Linked DNA regions of Homo sapiens: region 2 is linked to region 1. Evidence: promoter capture Hi-C in 16 types of primary human blood cells and fetal thymus (Javierre and others, 2016). All regions are on one chromosome and are shown on one strand. Each heading gives the region's core, a stretch centred on a gene start or on the middle of the fragment in contact. The rest is flanking DNA. Distances are from core to core; before and after follow the strand shown.

Region 1 (7,913 bases), core at 713-3,212:
CACTCATTCTGGCCCAGAATAAGCACCTGCCTGTCTTCCCAGCCTGTGGGCCCCTTGGTCTTTCTCTCTCCTAGTCTTTACTAACTGTTGCCTTAGCCCTTGGTTAAAGACTTAGGCAGAAAATACATTTTCTTCAGGCAATCTGACAGCTGGAGCCAATGGGAAATGGGTAGCATGTCAGAGGAGCCTGATTCCTGGGCTGGGCAGGGCTGTGTGGTAGGGTGAGAGCAACGGCCACAACGAACAGCAGAAGGGGGACTCTTATTTTTAACAGCTGTGCTTTGGGGCACAAGGCAGAAAATGTTTCTTTCTACCTTCTCCCAGGGGCAGGGACAAACAGCAGTGACTCTGTGGGTGACTGAAGATGAAGTAATTGCTGGGTTCTGATTAGGAATAGAGGAAGATTGCCTTCTGCCCACGCGCCAGCCTCCGAGTGGCTGAAGGTGCTGGAGGCAGAGGATAAGAAGGGAGGTGGCCCCTGTTGGCTCCGATAAGCAGGTGAGCTGCTGCTTTCTCCTTCATAGGGCTTCCCAGCCCACTGTGGGTGGTTAGCCTAAGTCTGGTTCAGAGATGCCAGCTGGGCACTCTGGCAATGCTAGAGCACTAAGCAGAGAAGAGGCAGTGTTGGCTCTGGTTAGCCAGGGCATACAGGCTCTCCTCGTCCTGTCCTCCGCAGTGGCCACAGGCACCCAGCTGTTCCACTCTCTCTGAAGGCCGCCAGGCAGTCTCTCCGCAAAACCTCCATAGAGACTATCTTCAGTTTCAGGTCCTCTCCTCCGGGCTGGGTCCCAGGAAGACACCTTGGGCTGAGTTCAGGGTGACATTGGGCTCCGGCTGCAGGAAACGGGCCCTCCTTGCCAAGAGACCACCTTTCAGTCTCTGCTTCACAGGTTTGCCTTCAACTTTGCCAGCGAGTTCCCCTCTGACATGCACCACCTTGAAACACCTTCTTCAAGGGGCATGGAGAATGGGGCAGCTTGGGTCCCCAATCCTGAGCTCCTTCTCCAGCCTCCGGCCGTCACGCCTCCCTCCCTCTCCCCTAATTCCCAGTCAAGCCAAGGAAAGGCTGCACAGAAGGCCAGAGAATCACAAAGGGGAGTAGGGGTCATTTTTTCACCCATCTCGGATCACAGGGAGAAGCAAGTTGGGCAAATGACTGGAGAAAAAACAAAGGCAAGCCGAGTGCTGGGGAGAGATGTTCCCCTGAAGTGAGACGGGGCTGGACCGTAGGAGAAAGGGGAGAGGGAGGGCTGGCGGGGGCAACTGACAGCTGACAGCAGAGGCGCCGAGGCGGAGGCTGGAGGAACCAGGTGCGAATCTCGTGCTTCTCAGGGGGGAAAAGAAAAGGGGGGGGACACCTGCTCACAATGGATTTTCTCATCTGCTCTGAGGTTTTGGCACCCCCCAGGCTGGTATTCTCAGTATGGTATGGTCCAAATAATTAGCAGCACCGCCAGCTCCCAGGGCAGGCTTTGGGGGTCTGCACCAGCAGCAAAACAATAAACAGTGATGCCTGATGCTGCAGCCAAAGTTGCCGGGAAATAAGTGCGGGAATCGTCAGAGCTTGGAGAGGGATGGAGGAACCGAGAGAGAGGAGCGGAGGCAGCGGGGAGGGGGAAGGGAGGACAAAGGGTGGATGAATAATGCTTTTGCAAAGGGGAGAAAGCAACACGCAGCAGGAGGAGGAAATTTGCAAAGAGAAAAAAATTCATTTGGAGAAGGGCTGCCCCCTCACCTTGAGGTCTGCTCCAGAGATCTCCGTCTATCTCTCTCTCTCTCTCTCAATCTCTCAATCTCTCTGCTCACTCTTCTCTCTTCTCTTTCCGCTCCTTCAATTGGGAAGGGGATGGGGGTGGGTGGGGGGAGGGTAGTTGGGGGCTCAAGACTGGGGCTGCAAAGCTGGCCAGCTGCTGGGGGGGCAGAGGTTGTCTCTCGTTCTGTACCTCGGTCTGTGGGTGAATGTGGCTGTGTGTTGTGGAACTGCATCATAACACTGTGAGTCATCCATCCCCCCCACCCCCCCTCACCTCCCACGTCAGAGCAGGGCTGGGAGACACAGGAGGCGGGTCGGAAGGAAGGGAGGGGGTAGGCATCAAGGGACGGGGCTAGAGGAGTGGGGGCCGAGGGACAAGGCGGCGATGGTGGGCAAGGGGAGAGGCAGGTTGTTAAGGAGGAAGGCAGTGGGGCCAAGGAGATACGAAGAACCTGGGGGAAGGACAGGGCTGGGCAAGGATGCAGTGAGGGTGGCAGGGCTGGAGGAAAGGAGGTGGCAAGGCTGGTGAAGGAAGAGATGGATGCAGAGTGAGGGAGCACACACACATTTAAGATGATACACTTTCCCATTTCAGCTTGGACACCAGCCCTGAAGCAGGGAAAAGACAGATGTACTAATTGTCATGGATGGCAAACTGTGCCCCCAAACTTGTACCAAGCCTCAAAGCCTTGGTTTAATACTCCTGAAGGAGTAATAGACCCAATGTGACATTTTGCATGCAGGAACCCCTTAACAGCTACCTCCATATTATGCGTGCTTCATGAATGGAGACACCTACGTTATATGAAGTTCTCTATTGGGCTGTAAACTTCCTGAGACAGGCCTTCTGGGAAATTACTCTCTACATCCCAGGACTGCAATGTCCAGTGCAGACCCGTGCATTTAGATGTTTCCAAAATAGCAGTTGTTTCCGCGGCATTATGTTCTGCTGGCCTAGAGGTCTTAGTTCCAGAGGGAGGAATGCTGCCACCAAGAGACACAACAATGATTCCATTAAACTGGAAGTTAAGATTGCCACCTGGCCACTTTGGGCTCTTCTTACTTTTAAGCCAACTTGCTAAGAAGGGAGTTACAGTGTTTGACCCAGACTATCAAGATGAAATCAGTCTACTACTCCACAATGGCGGTAAGGAAGTATGCGTGGAATACAGGAGATCACGTAGGGCGTCTCTTAATATTACCATGCCCTGTGATTAAGGTCAATGGGAAACTGCAACAGCCCAATCCAGGCAGGATGACAAATGGCCCAGACCCTTCAGGAATGAAGGTTTGGGTCACTCCACCAGGTAAAAAAAACATAATCTGCTGAGGTGCTTGCTGAAGGCAAACGGAATTCAGAATGGGTAGTCAAAGAAGGTAGTCATCAATACGAACTATGACCATGTGACCAGCTGCAGAAAATGAGGACTGTAATTGTCATGAGTATTTCCTCCTCCTTTTGTTAGGAACATGTTTGTGCATATATACACTTGTATTAAGAAAATATCTTCATTTTATTTCCTTTCTTTTGCCTTTATCATGTGACATAAGACTTACTGACTTGATATCAGCACTTAAGTGTTGTTAACTCTATGTAATAGCATTTGGGTTGGGGATTGGTGCGTTTCCGGTTGTACAAAGGATAGCTGTATTATGTTAAGCGTAATTATGACCTTATTATTGTCTTTATTTGAAGATCATGTATGATTTCAGGAGACGTGTATGGGTTCAAGTTGACAAGGGGTGGACTGGTGATGGTTAATATTGTCAACTAGATTGGATTGAAAGATGCAAAGTATTGTTCCTGGGTGTGTCTGTGAGGGTATTGCCAAAGGCGATTAACATTTGAGTCAATGGACTAGGAAAGGCAGACCCACCTCAATCTGGATGGGCACAATGTAATCAACTGTCAGCTAGGCCAGAATAAAAGCAGACAGAAGAACGTGGAAAGACCAGACTGGTTTAGCCTCTGAGCCTACGTCTTTCTCCCATGCTGGACGCTTCCTGCCCTCGAATATTGAACTCCAAGGTCTTCAACTTTGGGATTCGGACTGGCTTCCTTGCCCCTCAGCTTGCAGGCAGCCTACTGTGGGACCTCATCTGGTGATCATCTGAGTCAATATTCCGTAATAACTCTGATTTATATATACATCTATCCTATTAGTTCTATCCCGCTAGAGAACTCTGATTAATAGAGCAGTTGAGTTGCATCTTCAGACATGAACCAAGTGTCTGGCTTTGGTCTCAAAGAGACTGAATTAGACTCTTAGCTCTGCCAATTACTTGGCAGGAACCACTAGGCAAATTACTGATAATCTTTGTGCCTTAGTCTTACTCTTCTGCTAAATGAAGCTAATAATATTTATTATTATTAGCTCATGGAGATGCAGAATAAAGTGAGATAACATTTAAATGCCTGAAAAATGCCTGGCACATGATAGGCAGTAAACAGTAGTGTCATTTCAAAACAACATTCTCGCCAGGTGCGGTGGTTCACGCCTGTAATCCCAGCACTTTGGGAGGCCGAGGCAGGCAGATCACAAGGTCAGGAGATCGAGACCATCCTGGCCAACATGGTGAAATCCCCATCCCTAATAAATAACAAAAATTAGCTGGACATGGTGGCACGTGCCTGTAATCCCAGCTACTCGAGAGCCTGAGGCAGGAGAATCGCTTGAACAGGAAGTCAGAGGTTGCGGTAAGCTGAGATGGCGCCACTGTACTCACAGAGGTTGCAGTGAGCCGATCGCGCCAGCCTGGTGACAGAGCGAGACTCTGTTTCAAAAAAAAAAAAAGCATTCTTGGCTGGGTGAGGTGGCTCACACCTTGTAATCCCAGCACTTTGGGAGGCCGAGGTAGGCGAATCACCTGAGGTTGGGAGTTCGAGACCAGCCTGGACAACGTGGTGAAACCCCCCTCTCTACTAAAAATACAAAAAATTAGCCAGGTGTGATGGCGTATGCCTGTAATCACAGCTACTTGGGAGGCTGAGGCAGAAGAATCGCTTGAACCCAGGAGGCGGAGGTTGCAGTGAGCCAAGATGGGACCACTGCACTCTAGCCTGGGCAACAAAGAGAGACTCCGTCTCAAAAAAAAAAACAAAACCAAAAAAACAAAAGTGAAACCAAAACAGCATTCTCAATGTATGACCCCCAAAACCCAGGGAGGATTTATTATTAAATTCTGATATCTCAAGAGACACATGCCAAATTTTTGTCTTATGAAGACATTACATCTTTTGTTGCTATTTTTCTAGCAGCTTCCAGTTAAATTTCATTTGACTCAGAATTCATTTCTCATGGGGTGCTGTCCTGTGCATGTTACTAAAGTATGTGAACACAGAACATATCCCCTAAGACAAAAACCCTGATTTCTAACAGAGTCTAGCATTTAGCAAATGAAGTACGACAAAGATAGGGACTTCTAGAAAGCAGTGCTTGGGGGTGGTTTGTTTTTCTTCTCACACGTAAAGAGGGAAAAAAAAGTTAAGGCAGAGAAATGTGGGTAATGGGAGACATTGCTAGTTGAGCATGAAAATAAAAAGGGATTCTAAATATTTAATCAGGGAAGATTCTGGGGTTTAAAGTAAATTCTGAAAAGACAATGTGGGTGTCTTGAGGGATAGTACTAGAGATTTGGAATTGAGAGAAAAAGCTAGGTAAAGAAAGAAGAGAGAAGTGCTTTTGTTTGGGCAGCAGAAGAGAGGGGAGATAAAAGTAGAACACATGGACACAGGAAGGGGAACATCACGCACTGGGGCCTGTTGAGGGGTGGGGGGAGGGGAGAGGGATAGCATTAGGAGATATACCTAATGCTAAATGACGAGTTAATGGGTGCAGTACACCAATATGGCACATGTATACATATGTAACAAACCTGCACGTTGTGCACCACATGTACCCTAAAACTTAAAGTATAATAATAATAAAATTTAAAAAAAAAAGAAAAAAAAAGATTTTGAAAAGCAATTGTTGAGGAGAACAATGAGAAGTGGGAAAAGGCAAATGATTAGTTTTCAAGGCATGGATCGAAAGTTCTTTTGTTTTGTTTGTTTGTTTGTTTGTTCTTTGAAATGGAATCTCGCTCTGTTTCCCAGGCTGGAGTGCAATGCCATGATCGAGAATCACTGCAACCTCCGGCTCCCGGGTTCAAGTGATTCTCCCACCTCAGCTTCCTGAGTAGCTGGGATTACAGGCATGTGCCACCATGCCTGGCTAATTTTTGTATTTTTCGTAGAGACGGGATTTCACCATGTTGGTCATGCCGGTCTCGAACTCCTGATCTCAAGTGATCCACCCACCCTGGCCTCCCAAGGTGCTGGGATTACAGGCGTGAGTCACTGGGCCCAGCTCGGATTCAAAGTTTGGAAGCAGGCCGGACACCTGTAATCCCAGCACTTTGGGAGGCTGAGGCGGGCAGATGACCCTGAGGTCAGGGGTTCAAGACCATCCTGGCTAACATGACAAAACTCCTTCTCTACTAAACATACAAAAATTAGCTGGGCATGGCAGCGGGCGCCTGTAATCTCAGCTACTTGGGAGGCTGAGGCGGGAGAATTGCTTGAACCCGGAAGGCGCAGGCTGCAGTGAGCCGAGATTGCGCCACTTCACTCCAGCCTGGGCAACAAGAACGAAACTATGTCTCAAGAAAAAGAAAGAAAGAGAGAGAGAGAAAGAAAGAAAGAAAGAAAGTTTGGAAGCAAAAAGAAAATGATCAAGGATCTAGCTGGAGAGGAGAAAAAGAACATATGATGACGGTATTGTTTGGAGGTGGGGTGGAGATGGCAGGAGTGCTTGGTGAAAGATTAAAACTGAGAAAAGAGCTGGGCGCCGTGGCTCACGCCTGTAATCCCGACATTTTGGGAGACCGAGGCAGGTGGATCACCTGAGGTTAGGAGTTCGAGACCAGCCTGACCAACATGGTGAAACCCTGTCTCTGCTAAAAATAGAAAAATTAGCTGGGTGTGGCAGTGGAAACCTGTAATCCCAGCTACTCGGGAGGCTGAGGCAGGAGAACCGCTTGAACCCGGGAGATGGAGGTTGCAGTGAGCTGAGATCGCACCACTGCAATCCAGTCTGGGAGACAGAGTAAGACTCCATCTAAAAAAAAAAAAAAAAAAAAAAAAAGTGAGAGAAGAGAGTGTAGTCAAGCACAGATGCTTTAAATGTTGTGTCCTGACTCTTTCTGTATTTTAGAGGCAAAATGGAGAGCAGCCTAAAGGAAAGGAGGGGTTCTTTTCCCTAAGTTCAGCTTGAGATGGTTATACAATATCCAAATAAAAACAACTTTCAGGTAACTGGGAGAAACTGCCTCAAGGGAGATAGTAGAGGCGAAGATACAGATCTCGGAGATAGATTGCATGGAAAAAGGCGAGGATAAGCCCACTCAGGGAGAAAATTTGCAAATGGAAGACTGGAACTGAATTTTTAAAGAAGAGTGGAAGATTAGGGGACACACAATAGTTAATTGAAAAACTAATGCATAGGCCGGGCGTGGTGGCTCACGCCTGTGTTCTCAGCACTTTGGGAGGCGGAGATGGGCAGATCACTTGAGGTCAGAAGTTTGAGGTCAGCCTGACCAACATGGTGAAAACCCCATCTCTACTAAAAATACAAAAATTACCTGGGCGTGGTGACACACGCCTGTAATCCAAGCTACTTGGGAGGCTGAGGCAGGAGAATCACTTGAACCCAGGAGGCAGAGGTTGCAGTGAGCTGAAATTGCACCACTTCACTCCAGCCTGGGCAACAGAGCAAAACCTCATCTCAAAAAAAAAAAAAAAAAAAAAAAAGCTAATGCATATATGTTCAATGAATGAAATAATTAAAGCAAACCATCAAAGAAAAACTCAGAAGTGATAAGTGAGGATGGCACTGCTTGGGGAGTGCTGCTAAGTAGGGCCAGCAGGAGAAAATCTTTCTGGCGAACCAGAAAATCTTCCCAGTCTCCTCAATATGAATTAACTACGTGAGCCGGACTGAAAAAAGTACTCACCTGTAAAGTGGAGATGACAATTATAGTACCTACTGCATAGGATTCTGGCTACGATTAAATGAATTTACACCTGAAAAGTCCATAGACCAGTATCTGGCATATAACAGTATATAAATGTGGTTTTTTGTTTTTTGTTTTTGTTTTTTTGAGACAGAGTCTCGCGCTG
Region 2 (7,913 bases), core at 1,862-4,361, 190 kb before region 1:
TCCTCCTCCTTCTCAGGGAAAATCCGACGCTGAGCCCATCTCCAGAGATCTTGGCTTCCCGTGGGGCTGCAGATCCACCTAGAGCCACCAGAGGGCGGGCCAGCACTGCGGCCAAGGCTTGAAGACCCAGCACACCAAAGCCCGGCCAAGCCTCCAGCCCAGTGTCCAAGAGTCCAGCCAGAGGCCGAGTCCTCGATCTCAAAATGTCTAACTGCAGAAGCCCAACTCATGTTCAGGCATGATGTGTCTGATTCTACTGGGACAATCATTGCCACCAAAGAATTACTGCCAAAATAGTAACGACATTAGCTACCTACCACCCCTCCACACACCAACACACCTCATTTTACCAAGCACTTTCTCATGCCTGGGGTGCCTGGAGACTTAATGCAGCCTCGCGATGACCGGGTAGCCTCACCGTACAGATGAGGAAACTGAGGCACAAGGAAGGGGAGTACATTGTCTAGGGTCACCTGGAGAACTCTGATCTCCAGACTCAAATTTCCAATTCGTCCCCCCTCCCCCCAACCCTAACCGGAGCTAGGTGGGGTGGGGACAGCAAATGTGGATGGGGGGAGGTAAGAGGGGTCAGAGTGCTCTACAGAGAAGACCAAATGCATTGTGGCACCTACTGTAAAATGAGACCAGCCAGCCACCCACCCACCAGCCAGCCACCTAAAAGTCTTCAGTGGGCACCTGCTGGAAACACGACAATGGATGACACGAGTTCCCTGCCCTCAAAAAGCTGGTAGTCTAGTTGGGGGTGGAGGGGGTGAGTCAGCAGATAATTATGGGAAACCGTGACACCTGTATAAGGGGCGGGGATGAGCAGAGGGGCTGCGACTGCCTGGAGCCAGGGATTCCCGGACGGGGCTTCCCTTTCCTCGCAGCTCGTCCCAGGAGGAGGAGCTCCCCCCCAGCTTCGGGGTTCCGCCTGCCTTGGGGGCCCGGGGTCCCCTCCCACCCCTCCCCGAAGAGCGCGGGCCCCGGGAACCGATGACAGCACACCTGAGTCAGCCCGCCGCCCACCCGCCCCTCAGCGTCTGTCTCCGCATCTTGTGATATTTCGCTCCCCGGGAGCCAGCCCCACTGCGCTCCGGAGGCAGCTCGGCAAACAAACCCAGCGACAGATTGTGCCGCGGCTCATTCCGGGGAAGGACGCCAAACCCCACCCTGCTACCCCCAACACTCCCTCCCCGCCGCCGCCTCCAGGCCCTCCCCCCAGGCGCAGGCCCTAGTCGGGGTGGGTCCTGGGGAAACGCAGGGTCCTGTCCTGCCTCCTGGAAATAGGGGGAGCCCTGGGTGAGGGAAGACGGGAGCCCCAGAGACTTTTCTTTCTGTTTCTACCTGATCCGAAAACGAGAGGGGCGGGAAAGGAAATTTAGGGGCACAGAGAGGAGCTGGGGGGCCGAGAAGGTCCGAAAATGGAACCAGCAGGGGGCACCCGAGAGCCGAGGTGCCCACGGGCCGGGAGCCTGGGAATGAAACTGGGGAAGAGGGGGAGAGAAAGGGAGGCAGAGACACCGAGACACACAGAGACGAGAGACAGAGACGCAGGGAGCCCCGCGGGGAGGAGGAGAGAGACGAAGACACAGAGAGACAGTGAGAAAGACAGAAGACCGGGCAGGGAAACAGACGAGTAGAGACAGAAAAGGTCCGAGAGAGAGTGAGGGAGGGAGGGAACAGAGAGACAGAGACCACGAAATATGAGTAAGAGTCGGGGGAGAAAACCAGAGAAATCGAATGAGAACGCGAGAAGAACGAGAGACCGTGGAGGGAGCAGAGAATGAATGGGAAGAATAAGACCAACATTTATCAAGAGCCGACTGTATGCCAGGCACTGCATTGGACCCTGGCACGGATAGGAAAGGAGGAGCCGCGGCGCGGGCAGCGGGGCGAGGGGCTTCTGTGCTCGCGGGAGCGGCAGCCCAGGGGGCTCAGCAGCCCCGGCACCGCCGCACCTGAGGCTCCAGCAGCCCCAACCCCGCCAGCGCTGCCTGGCCACCGTACCCGAAGCGGCTCCCCCGAGGGCCCCGAGCCTATCCTACGCCGGGGCGGCTCCGCGGACGCGCCGGGCCGAGTCAAGACCTGGGTCAACCGCCCTGCAGCCTTTGTAGGGAAGTGCCTAGGTGATGGGTCTGCTGATACCGCCTGTGACCAGGCCATGAAGGGCCAGAGGGGCTCCAGTGAGACCATAATCCGCCCCTCTTTAAAAGGGGGTAGAGGAAGTTCACGCGAAGCCAACAGTCTTCTCCCCAGCTTTGGGTCCTCTCCTGCACCCCCGCGGGAGATAAGGTCTCCCCTCCCGGACACATCATACATACACAAAAAAACGCACACACTCGCACGCGCGCCCATCTCGCACCCGCTTGTAAATGCACTAAGGGGCATACACACACCGGGCACATATTTCTTTCCACCCATCCCCAAGATCGCAAGCGCAAAACCTCGCACAGCCTCACGTTTCCCACCAGCTCAGACATGCACGCTGGCGGACTTTCAGCGGCTCACCCGTGTGCACACTCACGTGCCCCCCCCCCCGCTTCCCCAAGCCCGTACAAAGGGTAACGGGCAAGCATCCTGAGTCACACCTGCACAAGCATCCTTGCGCGCACGTGCACGCTCATATGCACTCGATCTTGCACGCACAAACTCTTGCATATACTATTCTTATAGTCGCACACTGGGCTTGAGGTCTGGGAGTGGAAGGAAAAGTGGAATCTTGGAGCTGTCCCAGGGGACAGAAATGCTGGAGGCTGGGACACTGGCGCGAGGGACGCGGCTGGGGGCGGGGGAGGGGGTGACCCAGAAGCTCATCTTCTCCTGGAAAGTTGGGAGGGGGGAACAGGACAAGTCCACGGCGTTCCTCTAAACTACCGCATTCCCCCAAGAAGGGATTTCTCTAGAAGAGTGGCGCCGCGAGGACGATCGAACACAGTCCTCCGGGTCGCTTAAGCGGGGGGGAGGGGGGCGGGGTGGAGGGGGTTAGAAAGCCGCTCCCGCCTCCTAGTGGTCGAGAAAGGGTTAAGTCGGCAAGCCAGCAAACGAGGGAGGAGCCAGCGAGTGCGGGAAGGAGTGGGGGTGGTTGGGAAGAGCTTCCTCGCTGTCCCCACTCTCCCTCGGCTAGCAGCCTGGGCACACGGACAGACGGACTGACGGACTCTCGAGCGGACAGCGCAGCTAGCGGGGCGCGGGCGCTGGGCGTCGACGGCCAGCCCCAGCCTTCCCCGCCCCGTCGCGCCCCGCCCCGTCCCGTCGGGGCCGATGGCTCCTCCCGAGGCCCGCAGCCCGGGCGGCGCAGGGTAGAGCGCCGCGGCCCGGCCACGCAGCCCGGGGACTCCCGGGCCCTCCCGGAGCCCCGCGGGGTCCCCGCCGTGCATCCGGCGGGCTCAGGGAGCGAGTGGGAGCGCCCTCCCCCCGCTGCCCCCTCCCCCGAGCATCGAGACAAGATGCTGCCCGGGCTCAGGCGCCTGCTGCAAGGTAAGAACGCCAGCGGCGGGAGAGCGGAGGGCATCCTGGGGAGAGAAGCAGGGCGTCCCCTCTTTCAGGGATTGAGGGTGGGGCAGTTGGGGAGGTGGGGTAACCTGGGGAAGGGGAAAAGCTCAGCGCTGGGGCCGCGCCCCCGCCGCCAGGGCTGTTCTCAGCAGGAGGGCACTTGGCTGGGAGCCCGCGGGCGCGTGCGAGGAGCTCGTGACCGAGGTGGGACGCAGGGGGCAGGTGGACCCGGCCCGGAGCGGGGAGGGAGGCTCAGGTTCCGCTGTCCCCGCTCCACCTGCTCCGGGGGACGCTGAGGACTCGGGCCGGCTGGGGAAGCGCCGACTCAGCAACTCCTCCTGCCCGGTGCCTCAGCACTTTCTGGCCACCTGGGAAGACAGGAGATGTGGGTAGGGGGCTGTCTGGGGAGGTAGGAGGCGCAGAGGGAAATCCAAGTGGCCCTCTCTGGTAGGAGAGATGGAGGGCGCTAGAAAGAGGATAGTTCTACTGATTGAGTGACAGATAAGGGTGTGGGCCAGAGACTGGGGGTGGGGTGGGGAGGGGTCAGGGGGAGAGGGATAGGAAGGAGAACTCAAAGATGGAGAAAGTGGTGAGGGAAGCTCAAAGGAGGAGGGAGATGGAGCGGGGGAGGGGGAGAAGGAATAAAGGTTAGATGGGAAAAGCGTGGAGGGAAGTGGGACCCAGGTGAAGACCAAGGAAGAGGGAAGGAGAGGAAAGACCAGATCAGGGGAGGGATGGGAAGAAGACTATGGACAGGGACCCAGAATCCTGGGATGGAGGTAGCGGGAAAGAGAATCAGGACTGGGACCCTGGGGACTGGAATGGAAAAGGAGAATGGAAAGATCAGAAACCAGAGAAGGATGGGGATGGTGACTAGAGAAGGGGTATCAGGAACCGGCGAAGAGGGTTGGAGACAGGGAACCATGGATGGGAGAGGGGCTGGAGAGGAGGGAAGAGGAGGAGGAAGAGAAAGGCTGAGAGAGAGGGACTGGGGATTGGGGGTGCTGCCCAGGGATGAGACAAAGAGGCTTCTGGTAACCACTTCCACGTGGGAAGCCCTCCATTCCCAAAGCGCCTGCCTGCCACATTTCTTCTCTCAGGGAGTGGCTGGTGGGCCAGATGGGGGGTGCTTTGAGCTCAGGGCCCTGGGGGTGGCTGTGAGGGACAGAGGGTGAGGACTTTGGAAGGGGAGTGACAGCCTCCGAGGGTGGGCAAACAGGCTGGCTCCTGTGCTGCCATTTATTTATCCGGCCTGGACGTTGGATTCTGCAGCCGCTGCCGCCACCACGGTGGCTGCTTATTTTGGGGTGTTACATTCTGGCAGAGTGAGAAGCTGTTTGCAGCAGCTCTAAACCTCCGTCACCCGCGTCAGTGCCTCCCCAGGCCCCTGCGTCACTGGCATCACCACCACCTCCATCCCACTCCTCAGCTCCCACCTCCTCAGCCCCTGCCCCCTCAGCATCTGCCCGCAGGCCCCAGCCCTTCCCTGAAGCAGCCCGTTGGGTGTGGAGCCCTTGCTTCTCGTCTGGGACCCTGTGCCCCTCCTTCCAGAGCGAGAGGCCTCTGCTGCCTTTCCAGGGAGCATCCTTTCCTGGGACCACTCTGCACCAGCGACTCTGCCCTGTGGGTGGGTAGCCTGGATCCTGCCCCCTACTTTGGGTCCAGTTTTCTTCTCCTCAAGTTCCTTCTTCTACAGGGGCCTCCGGCCCAAAGAGTGGCCTGTGGGCTGAGAACTTTGTTTCTGAGCCTTGGTACTCCAAGGTTTGATAGCCAGAGTCCTGGACAGTGGTCCCTCAGTGAACAGATACTTTTGGCTCTGGACACTTCAGCCTTCCGGGATCAATACCATGTTCTGGCCTCTCTTGGCTCCCTCCCCTGGTCAGTTCTGGCCATATATTCTGGACAGGGGTCATCTCTTCTTGACTCCCACATGTAATCACTACTCTAGAACAACCGCAACTGGAAGCCTAGGAGGTGAAAGTTGCAGAGAGAGCTGGAGTCCCTTCCTTGCCTTGACCCTGAATAGCCAAACAGACTCAGCATTGTGGCTGGCCCAGCCCTAGGCACCTGGGTGCAATTTCTCTCCTGTCTTTACCTCAAGGGCAGTGTCTCACACATTCAGGCGTGGTTTCTGCGGAGGATGTGGCCACCTCTTAAAGAAAGATCAGAGTGTCTCTCTGACATGGGCTTGATGTCCCTCTTTTCCAATCTGGGTTCCACCTTGTACTAGCTGCATGACCTGAGGCCACTGTGTCATGTTTCTGGGGCTCCCTTCCTTCATCTGCAAATTGGGGGCCACAATATTGACCTCCAGGGGATTATGTGTGTTGTGTTCAATGTATAAAGAAGTTAACCTGTACAAATGCAGTGCCTAGGACAAAATAGGTGCTTCTTGGTTTCCTCCTACCCTGCTGTACTCTCCCCTGCAGCTCTAGCCATCCCCTGCTGACTTTAGAGGAGGGGGTGAGCAGAGAGGGTGGGGGAGGCTGCTACAAAGGGCTTTCCTCTGTCCATGAAGTAGTGGAGGGATGAAATGAAGGCTTCTGAGAAAGACAATGAAGGCGAGCTGTAGAGACCTGGTCAGGAGGCCTGGGGTGCTCAGAAACTCACACTTCCCCTCCCCAGCCCTCAATGGTGTTACCTATGATGTGAGGGGTCGGCTCTAGGTGGCCACCGAGGTATCCCCCTTTCCAGCTCTGATACTCTGTGCATCTTGCCCCAGTCTCCACCGGGAATTCACAAAATGAAGGCCAGGAGTGGAGCCGTGGTCCTCGGGAGAGACAGGAGGCCTGGGCCTGGAGGGAAGGAGTGGTGGTGCTGAGGAGGAGTGAGAACAGGGGGTGGGGAAGGGACGTGGCAAGAAAGAAAAGGGCACACACTGGGCAGGGCAGGGACTGAGGGCGGGGGAGAGAGGGAAAGGCACAGCTCTCTAGTCCCCCAACCCCCCAGTCCCACCACCTCTGCCCTGGAGTGCTCGCTCCAGCCCCAGCAGGCCTGGGGCAGTGAAGCCCAGAGCCCCCTCCCCTCCCCTCCTCCTTGCCTCCAGTGAGAGCCGCTGCGTGAATTATGGATGAGCTCCTTGGGTTACAGCTGCTTTGCACGGCAGTGGCAAGGGCCAGAAATGGCAACAGAGTCACTGTTATGCAGCAGCTGTTATGGAGGAGCCCCCAGCACGGGGTCGCTCTTCAGAGAGCCTGCAGGGACCACTATCATGGGCTGGGGGAGGTGAGCCCTGGTTGGGGGAGACATGGGAACAAGATGGAAGGAGAGTGGGGAAAGAGAAGAGAAGTAGTCTAATGTGGGCAGGTGGGGAGCAGGAGAGTCTAGGGAGAGAAAGAGGAGTAGGCACCCTTGCCAGCTCCTGCAGAGTTTACCCTCAAGGCCGGAAGGAACCCTGATGCCAGGGGAATGGGCCTTGCCTCTGAGATTGCACATCCTTCCCTCTGTCTCTCCTGGGGCAGCGGTCAGTCCGGAGGCTGGGGGAAAGCTCTGTAATCCTCCAGGGGCTAGCGGCCATCAGGGCTCACACTCTGGTGAGCTTGTGGATAAGGGGTAGGATTAAGGGATCAGAGAAGGATTTGGCTTCTTTTGGTGTCAAGTCCTTAGGGAAGTGGAGATCAGAGGGTGACTCTGATAGGAAGGGAAGTGCCCTGGCTGGGCATCAAGAGACTTTTCTGGCCCTTTCCCTGCCAACACTTTGCTGTGTGACCTTGGGTAAGTCGCTTGCTCTCTCTGAGCTCCAGTCATCACCTCAGTAGAACTGATGCTTGAACCAGAGGAATCGAGGGGACCTTTGCGGCTTTGAAATCTCCAGTTCTAAGCCCCAAACCTCAACCCTCATGAAACCCACTCAGGGTCCCCACTGTGCTTCCACACTCCACCTCTGCCTGGTTCAGATGAGGGGTGAGAGACATTGCTCCTCCACCCCACGTGGGTCTAAGAAACTCGGGAGGAGAAAGTAATCGTGAAACGCCGCACGGGGGAGGGGTGAGAAGGGCCGAGAAACGCGGAGGTGGTGTGAACGAATGGAACAGCAGCCGCTGTGTCACTGAGTATTACATCACACCCAGCCTACACACGCACGGGGCCCGGCGCTCACACACACGCGGAGGACAGCCAGCACGCACCGACGCAGCACCGACGCAGCGCCAGGAGGGGCCGGGGACACTCACGGTGGGGCCCAAAAGCGAGGAGCAGCACACTGGGAGTGTGGATCTTCCACCCCGCACCTGTGTGCTCCCCCCTCTGGAGGAGGAACACCAGGGCAGCTGGGATGCCAGCGCCACACTCGGGGCCTGTCAGTCCCATGCGTGCACACCTGGCTGAGCAGCACTGCATTTGGTGAGCACCTGGCTCACGCCACTACCCAAAATCACAGATACATACACACATTCACGCACACGGCAACCTCAGGAGCG

The links. The method cuts DNA at HindIII sites, captures the fragments that hold promoters and counts their contacts. A CHiCAGO score of 5 or more calls a contact.
Region 2: the fragment with the promoter of RTN4RL2 here is called in contact with the fragment with the promoter of YPEL4 in region 1 in 5 of 17 cell types (neutrophils, fetal thymus, naive CD4 T cells and 2 more); the score reaches 9.1 in neutrophils.

The regions. Positions count from the first base shown.
Region 1 is chr11:57,647,950-57,655,862 of GRCh38, forward strand. YPEL4 (yippee like 4) reads right to left here and starts at 1,963. Exons shown (of 5, transcript NM_145008.3): 1 at 1,736-1,963. MIR130AHG (MIR130A host gene) reads left to right here. Exons shown (of 2, transcript NR_186232.1): 2 at 2,349-4,952. RefSeq lists an enhancer at 335-474. The HindIII fragment of the contact is 14,007 bases long and covers 1-7,913 here.
Region 2 is chr11:57,457,417-57,465,329 of GRCh38, forward strand. RTN4RL2 (reticulon 4 receptor like 2) reads left to right here and starts at 3,112. Exons shown (of 3, transcript NM_178570.3): 1 at 3,112-3,480. The coding sequence starts at 3,450. RefSeq lists silencers at 1,960-2,019, 3,119-3,388 and enhancers at 4,824-5,362, 6,452-6,956, 7,006-7,601. The HindIII fragment of the contact is 14,932 bases long and covers 1-7,913 here.